Regions from separate parts of the Homo sapiens genome. Here all the other regions are linked to region 2. Evidence: promoter capture Hi-C in 16 types of primary human blood cells and fetal thymus (Javierre and others, 2016). All regions are on one chromosome and are shown on one strand. The core of a region is centred on a gene start or on the middle of the fragment in contact, and the rest is flanking DNA. Distances in the headings are between cores, read along the strand shown.

Evidence for each region. The method cuts DNA at HindIII sites, captures the fragments that hold promoters and counts their contacts. A CHiCAGO score of 5 or more calls a contact.
Region 1: a contact is called between a fragment that was not itself captured here and the fragment with the promoter of COG6 in region 2, in 1 of 17 cell types (endothelial precursors). The highest score is 5.3, in endothelial precursors.
Region 3: a contact is called between a fragment that was not itself captured here and the fragment with the promoter of COG6 in region 2, in 1 of 17 cell types (M2 macrophages). The highest score is 5.7, in M2 macrophages.

The regions. Positions count from the first base shown.
Region 1 is chr13:39,150,999-39,153,920 of GRCh38, reverse strand. No RefSeq gene overlaps it. Among named protein-coding and RNA genes, the nearest start is that of NHLRC3, 110 kb to the right of the region's middle. The HindIII fragment of the contact is 277 bases long and covers 1,299-1,575 here.
Region 2 is chr13:39,654,264-39,657,265 of GRCh38, reverse strand. It overlaps COG6 (component of oligomeric golgi complex 6), which reads right to left and starts at 1,604. Exons shown (of 19, transcript NM_020751.3): 1 at 1,387-1,604. The coding sequence starts at 1,539. RefSeq lists a silencer at 1,291-1,340. The HindIII fragment of the contact is 8,496 bases long and covers 1-3,002 here.
Region 3 is chr13:39,267,160-39,269,907 of GRCh38, reverse strand. No RefSeq gene overlaps it. Among named protein-coding and RNA genes, the nearest start is that of NHLRC3, 230 kb to the right of the region's middle. The HindIII fragment of the contact is 742 bases long and covers 950-1,691 here.

The sequences.
Region 1 (2,922 bases), core at 188-2,687, 500 kb after region 2:
AATATAATCAACCATCTATTGAACAGATACTGTGTGATAAGTACTGCAATATGCTACCAGTAGGATGCGAAGGCAGCATGAAGTGCATGAAGGCTTCCCAGAAAAAGTAAAAATAAAAACAGAGAGGAAGGCAAAGATGGGTGTGAAGGGGGATGCAGGGAGACTTGAATGCATTTACTCACAAAAACATATTTGGTATGCCTTTCAGATCTCCTTTTCAAAGGAGGGAGAATCAAATTTGTATGTGTGTGTATACCTATATCTATGCCTATATATTTACATCTATGCCTACATCTATATTTCGAGAAAGTGAGAGGTAGGGGAAACAGGCAAAGTTTTCGGAAATTAACCACAGTAATGGCGAGGCCATTAATGTATTAGTTGGGTTTTAGTTAAATAATAGAAACTAAGTTAATTCAGTATAAACAGAGAAGTGACATATCGAAAGGACATTAGTAGCCTACAGAATTACTGGGTGGTCATGTGAACCAGGCTTAGATGAAGGCTGTGCAGCCAGAAGTTCTCCTGCAGCACTGATCTGGCACTGCTGTTCCAGAAGATCTACCTTATTGTAATCAACATTGCTGCTATAGAGAGGATTTTCTACAGCCCCAGAGTTTTGTATGAGAAATACCTGACTCAAATTCCAGGGTGCATCTGACCAGCACGTGCTTATGCCCTCACTGCAAGGGAGACTGGGAAAGTGAGCTACTGGTATCTGATATTTCAATGACCACTACAGTAAAATCTCCATTTGTTTCCTGTGGTTGCTGTAAAAAATTACCACAAACTTGGTGGCTTAAAGCAACAGAAATTTATTCTCGCATAGTTCTGGAGCCCAAAAGACCAAGTCACGGTGTCGGCAGGGCCACACTCCCCACTTTCTAGTTTCTTGCCTCTTCTAGCCCGGGTGGCTGCAGGCATTCCTTAGCTTGTAGCCACATCACTCCAGTCTCCACCTCCATCTTTATATTGCACTTTCCATGTGTATTTGTCAAATCTCCCTCTGCCTTTCTGTAATAGCATGTGATGGCAGATAGAACTCACCTTAATAATTCAGGCTAACCACCTCATCTTAAGATCCTTAATTTAGTTATGTTTGCAAAAATATGCCCCAAAAGGTAGCATTCACAGGGCCTGATATCTTTGAGATTCAGATGCAACAAATTATCCTTTACATTAGAAGGAGTATTTAGATGTACACCTTTCACTAAGATGGCAAGCCCCTGAATGTTTTTTTCAGGTTTGTTTCCTACAGGTTTGATATGCAAACGTCTTACAAATATGTCTTTAAAGCTTGCTACCTCTGGCTCACTATCTCTAATCAGAAAACAGGTAAAGAATTCCTAAACTATAATCAGGCTCAGATGTTGTCCACCAAAAAGAATGGTTAGTGTCTAGTACAACTAGTATACAAGATTTATAATGTAAGATCTTGTAGACTTTTGTTAGAAGTACACCATAGATTTTGTGCAACTAAATCATTCTTGGAAAATAACAAGGTCACCAACTAAGTAGCCAAGCTCTTCAGTTTCTCTTGCTCTTCTCATCTCCCTAATATGTCCAGTCTAAGCTTAAATGCAGGTGAACTGTAGTATAGGTATGTAAGACTTTAAAGAGAAATTGATAATTTCTAGTATATCCTTCTCAAAGATGAAAGAAAGCATAGAAGACCTAACTATGATATAATATTTAATGATGGTTTCATGAATGGGGAACTCAGTAAATTTTCCCAAAATGTATCCTATAAACCACATTTGGCACACAAGTGCCTGTGTGTGTTGGCTAAATAAGGTTCCATTTGGATTCATCTTCTGCTTCCTCATTGGCTACAGGCAGAGCCTGTAGAAATCATCACAATTTCTACCATGCCAGTCCTATAAAGAGTATACCTTTCTCCAAGTAGAGTAAATCCAAGTATAGATCAAAGCATGATCATAAGCCAAGCAGATAGCAGGTGGTGCAATATAATATTAAGACACATCACATGCAGCTTTCAGGGAACCAGATCAGAATAGGAGTGTCCTATTACACGAACTAGAGAGTCTGACTAAGCTGGAGAGATAAAAGATCCCAAACTCTCAAAAGCCAGGATGGAGATTCTAAAACCCAAGTTGCTTATAGACATATTTTTTCCTTTAAAAATTTTACTTTTTAATAGGCAACACAATATAACAAAGAGCTCTTGGGTATGTGGCTGCCCAGCCAAAGCCTATGACTCACAGGCTCCCTTGCAGTGGAGATGTGACTAAGTTCTGGTCAGTGCAATGTGCTTAGAAGTGATATGTGTGACTTCCAGTTTGTGCACTTAAAAAGGATATCCCATCGGGCGCGGTGGCTCACGACTGTAATCCCAGCACTTTGGGAGGCCGAGGCAGGCGGATCACCTGAGGTCAGGAGTTCGAGATCAGCCTGACCAACATGGTAAAACCCCATCTCTACTAAAAATACAAAAAGTTAGCCAGGCATGGTGGCAGGCGCCTGTGATCCCAGCTACACAGGAGGCTGAGGCAGGAGAATTGCTTCAACCTGGGAGGCAGAGGTTGCAGTGAGCTAAGATCCCACCATTGCACTCCAGCCTGGGCAACAAGAGTGAAACTCCGTCTCAAAAAAAAAAAAAAAAAAAAAGGAGATTCCCCCCCACCTTTCCCTTTTACATCCTAGTCATTAGATGTATTTTACTGATTGTGACAGTTGTGCTAGAATACATACCTGCAACAACATGTGCTTAGTCTTCTGTATTATTGTCAATACCTCCCTTTCCTGGTCAGCTGATACTGATGTTGGATACACACACTCTCAACCCAGCATAGCCCCTAGCTGGTTCTGACCAAAGTGGTCTGTGTTTCAGAAGGCACCATACCACTGAGGTTCAGACTAAGTTCCAAATATGATATCCTCCTTTTTTTTCCTGTGGTACAG
Region 2 (3,002 bases), core at 355-2,854:
TGAGGTCAGGAGTTCAAGACCAGCCTGACCAACATGGAGAAACCCCGTCTCTAATAAAAATACAAAATTAGCCAGGCGTGGTGGCACATGCCTGTAATCCCAGCTACTTGGGAGGCTGAGGCAGGAGAATCGCTTGAACCCGGGAGGCAGAGGTTGCAGTGAGCCGAGACTGCGCCCATTGCACTCCAGCTTGGGCAAAAAGAGCAAAACTCTGTCCAAAAAAGAAGGCCATGTTATCTATATCAGAGCAAGTAGCAGTCTTAAATGATATAATAAATATCAATATGAGACACATTAAACACTTCATAAATTTTATGATAAAATTAATATTTGTTAAGAAAGAGTAAGTGCCAGGCTCTTTGCAAAGGACTTTACCTGGAGTCTCTCACTGAGTCCTCAAATAACAACCATGAGAAACTTAACAGCAGGATTCCTAATTCCTAAACAGAAGCTGAGATTAGTGAAGGGACTTACTCAAATCATGATGCACACATTTAGTGGTTCTATCTAATAAGTGGTAGTCTCCAGAGCCCTAATTTCTTATTCATTACATTGCAATGTTATTTTTTTACATATCGGAATCAAATTGTTATCGACAGCTTATTTTCAGTTACCTACATATTCACCTATAAAACTCTCTAACTTTGACATATGTTCTTCTTTATGTTACACTGTCATGACCAATTTACCTAGCGACCCACAGAGACAGAAGAGATGGCTGGGTATGTGAGGAGCTGTAAAGTCCAACTTAAGTTTCAGGAGGTACTTGTGAGAGCATGCTGTCAGTTTATCTTCTAAAGAAATACAGCCTGAGCCCACAAATCATAGCGCTTGGCTCAACAAAAACTAGTAGATATGAGTTCATTTCAGCCACGGGCAAAGGTAGTTCTTTCGCGCTGCAAATTATTGCAATTGTTGTCACTTGTCCGTGGAAATGCACCCTTATCCCTACCACTGCTCTCTTGGTCTCCCGACCCCCATTTGCGCTACCTTATCTTGGAATCTGCTCTTTTGCATCTGTTTCATATCCAGTCTTGTGCTCTCCTCCACTCTCCCAGCTCACACAGCCAAACGCCTCCAGGGGTGTTTGGAGGACACTTCTCGAGGCACCACCGTTCACCAATCCCATCCAGAGAGCCTTGAAGGCACCTTTTCAGGTGGAGAGAACACCCAGGAAACCCCTTCGCTTTTCCGGAGGTTGCTGGGGCTCCCCCTTCTCACCGCCCCCGGCGCCCGCAGAGCAGCGGAGCCCGCAGGTCTGGGGTCACTCGCGGTCCCTCTGCTGCCGGGACGAGGGAGACCGCGGTGGGTCCCTGACAGACGCCGCCCCTGGCCCGGCTCAGCCCCGCAGGAACCTGTGACTCCGGCCCCGCCAGCCCCGGTTACCTTGTCGTTGTCCAGCCGCGTCTCCAGGATCTTATGCAGCTTGCGCGACAGCGGGTTGCAGGTCGTCGCCGAGGTCCCGCCTGCCCCATTGTTGAGGCCGTTGGCAGCCCCGGTCGCAGACACTGCGACCACTTCCCCGCTGCCCTCTGCCATAGCGCTGCGCGTCCCGCCCCCTGCTGCCACCTCAGCCAGGCAGGGACCACGGAGGCAGCGCGAGTATTGCGCATGTGCAAATCGGCCGCGCATGCGCATCGGCCCCGGAAGTCTTCGCCGGGTAACCCTGCTTGGGCTCTCAGAAGCGTGAGGGGCGGAGAAGATGTGGGGGGCGGGACAAGACCCTCAGGTAGAAGGAGAAAATTTATAGGATTAGAGAGGACTTTGGAATTATGGATCTGCGACCTTCAGAGCTAATTAGATGACAACCAAATGTAGTATGTAAAATACACCATGACTTGTGCCTGGCATATACATTCAATATAAGTTAACTGAAAGTTTAAATTACATTTGCCTTATCTGAATTCATTTTTTTGAAAATTATTTATTGAAGGCATAGTATGTGCCAGGTACTCTGGTAGGCATTGGAGAATCTACATTGTGTGTCTGAAACAGACAAAGCTGTTAATAGATGTTATTAGGTTGTGATGAGTGCTCAGGGGATGAAGTAGTACAGTGAAAGAAAATGGAGGGAAAGGCCCACTTCACTCAGGGAGGTTTGGAGAGGAGTTGACACTTAAACTGAGATTTGAAGGAGAATCAGAATGTGAGGAGAAATCATTCCCAGGCAGAAGAAAGTGTGTAAGTGTACAGGCCTCAAAACAAGATGAACTTGGCCCTGACACAAATGGACCAGAGCCCATGTAGCTGTAAAGTAATGGATAAAAATGTAACAAGTTGAAAAAACTTCCCGGGAAACTCTGGAAAACAAACATCATTGCTTTTTTTCTTTCTTTTCTCAGTTTTTAAAATTTGGATCAAAATAAAATCGCTGGGCTTCTGTGAATTATTTGTCAGAAACACTATTTGGCTCTTGTCATAAATTTTCCTTGTTTCATATATGTCTATGTACATAGTTATATTGTATATCAGACTTAAGGGAAAATTACCTATTACAGAGGTCACATAAAGAAAGCACTGACAAAACCACTCATCTCTACTCTAATGAAGAAGAGAAGGCCCAACTATCCAAAAGAAAAAAATATACAAAAAGCAGCAATATCTAGGTATGAATTCAACAAAAAATACAGAGAACCTAGATGAAGAAAACTTTAAAATGCTACTGGGAGAACATAAAACTTAAATCAATGAAAAAATATATTGTTCTCTTCAACAGGAAGACTCAATATTGTAAGATGTCTTTTCTCTTTCACAGATAAATTTAAGTTCAGTGTAACCAAAATTAAAATATCAAAGGTTTACCTAAGGTGTATATATCCAAATGAATTTGCATATATACAAAGCAATAATATAATGTAGAGCTTGCAAATATGTACAATTAAAAGGAATGACGATGATAACATGCCAAGTCAGGAGCGGTCATGAAATACCACATATTGTATGACCTCTTTATGTGAAATCTCCCAAATAGGTAAATCAATAGAGATAGAAAGTAGATGAGT
Region 3 (2,748 bases), core at 71-2,570, 390 kb after region 2:
CCTGCATTAATTCACTTAGGATGACCACCTCCAGCTGCATCCATGTTGCTGCAAAGGATATGACTTTGCTCTTCATTATGACTGTATAGTATTCCATGGTGTATATGTACTTACATTTCCTTTATTCAGTCTGTCATTGATAGGCACTTAGATTGATTCCATGTCTTTGCTATTGTGAATAGTGCTGTGATGAACATATGAGTGCATGTGTCTTTTTGTAGAATGATTTATTTTATTTGGGTGTATGCCCAGTAATGGGATTGCTGAGTTGAATAAGTAGTTCTGTTTTTAGTTCTGTGAGAAATCTCTAAACTGCTTTCCACAATGACCAAACTAATTTCCACTCCCACCAACAGTGTACAAGCATTCCCTTTTCTCAATAAACTCACCACCATCTGTTGTTTTTTGACTTTTTAATAATAGCCATTCTTACTGGTGTGGTTTTGACTTGCATTGAAATGTAAGTTCTGATGAAGTTATTCTACTGAAGAAAGACGTGAAAAATATTTATCAGATACATTCCATGAAGTGCCATAAAGTCGAATAAAAGAGCAGAGGATGGAGACTGGTGGTGGGGAGTGAGATGCTTCCTTAAGGTATAAGGGAATGCCTCTTTGAGGGTTGCCTTAACTGCATCCTTTATTTTCTGTATTCTGATGCTTTCATCCCTGGGGCCTGGCTGATCCTGGAGGGACTGCCTCTCTCAGGGATAGCCAAGTCTTAGAGATAGTAAACAACTCATGGATGTGCTTTCCAAATCCAAACCAAGGAATCCAGATCCCAGACCCTAACCCCCTCCTTTATCGTTTGTCATATTCTAGTCCACTATCCATCTGCTCTCATCACCTCAGGGCCAGACACCAGATAACTAGGGACAACCCCACTGAAATTATTCAAACTAGTCCATCCTAAACTTGCTTCCCTTCCCCTGGACACTGTAATAGAAGCTTTTACCCACAGCTGTCCCCACAACCTTCTGCCTCCTGATTGGCCCTAGTGTTTCCCCGCTGGGTCCACCATGGTGGGTCATGCCCCTGTTCTTGGCAACTGTGAGTAACAAACTGTCCTTTCAGTGGAATTTACCTCCTGGTCTATTGCCCTTACAATACCTCCACATTTCTATTAATACACTGTATTTTAACACAGAGGGGGTGACATTGAAGGAGAGACTTGAATGAAGTAAGGAGACTAAGGATATGTGGAGAACGAACATTGCAGTCAGAGAACTGCATGTGCTCGTGGGCAAGTTTGAGGAGCAGCAGGTTGGCCCTGTGGTCAGAGCTGAGTGAGCAAAGGAGAGAACACTACAGATCCATCAGGAAGGAGGCTGCAGTAGTGGTTAACGTGAGCACAGGTGCTGAGTTTCATTTGAAACTGCCAGTGATTAGACTGTCAATGGGGAGAGGCAAAATCTAGATAATCACTTTTCCAGATACTGAATAACTATTGTCAAAGGCATAAACTAGGGACAGACATAGGAGCAGATAGTTCACATCTCCTACAAGGTAGCTCTCGACTCCCATGAATGACAGAAGAGAAATTCTGTTTCCATATCGTGCTCTCTGACTATAATGGATTATTATGTTTGTGAAAGAAACACTATGTTACCTCAAACCAGAGCACTTTCAAAATGACCTGCTGGATCATCCCCACACCTGAGATCTTGTTTTGAATTTTGACTAAATGAAGCTTCTTTTCCTCTGAGTTTTTCTAAAGTAGCAAAAAATTTAGGACAAAGGCATTACTAATGAAGTAGGTCATAACAGAGTTGTCTTTAGCCAGGACTTATGCATGTATGATTAAATGCAATATTTATTATGTATGTGGGGGTGGGAACAATATTTAGTATGCATGTGGTGGGCACACATTAATTAGAAACTCTTTCTTGCATATCTTATTACTGTGCTAGGAATGAAAGATGCTCAGAAGTATAAAATGGTGTTCACCTTAAAGAGTAGTCATCAAGACAAACACAGATAAAACCCTTGTAATTACAATATTTAATAACAAGCCAAATTTTGTGGTATAGATGATAGCGTTTCTTTGAATTCAAAGCAAAGAGATAAGAAGTGTTGGCATGATAAATGAAAAGATTGATTTTAATTTTAATGTTGACCTTAAAGAAAGCATGTGATTTCAACAGAAGGATGGTAGAGAGACTGCATGAAGGGAGCAAACCGTGAAAGCAGAAGAGAATGTGGAGTGTTTGGGGACAGTAAAAAGTTAGCTTGGTTCAAAAGAGGAAAGCATGGAAAAATATATAACTGTTCGAGATCTTGAAAATAAGGCAAACAAGCATTTAGTAATAATTGGAGGAAATGGTGTATCATTTGTCATTTTGAACAAAGAAGGGACATCATGTGAATAACTTTTAGGAAAGATTTTTCTGTCTGAATTAAGCTGAATAGTTCAAAGGTAGAACAGCTAGAATTAAGGACAATAGACATGAGGTATATTAGTTTCCTAGAGGTGTCATAGCAAAGTACCACAAACTAGGTGGCTTGAAACAACACAAATTTATTGTCTCATAGTTCTAGAGGCTAGAGGTCTGAAGTCAAGATACCGACTTGATTGCTTCCTCCTGGAGGCACTGAGGGAGAGTCTGTTCCATGCCTCTCTTCAAGCTCTGGCAGTTGCTGGCGCTCCTTGGTGTTCCTTGGCTTGTAGATGAAGCACTCCAGTCTCTGCCTTTGTGGTCACATTGTGCTCTCTCCCTATTTATATTTGCATCTAAATTTCCCTCTTCTT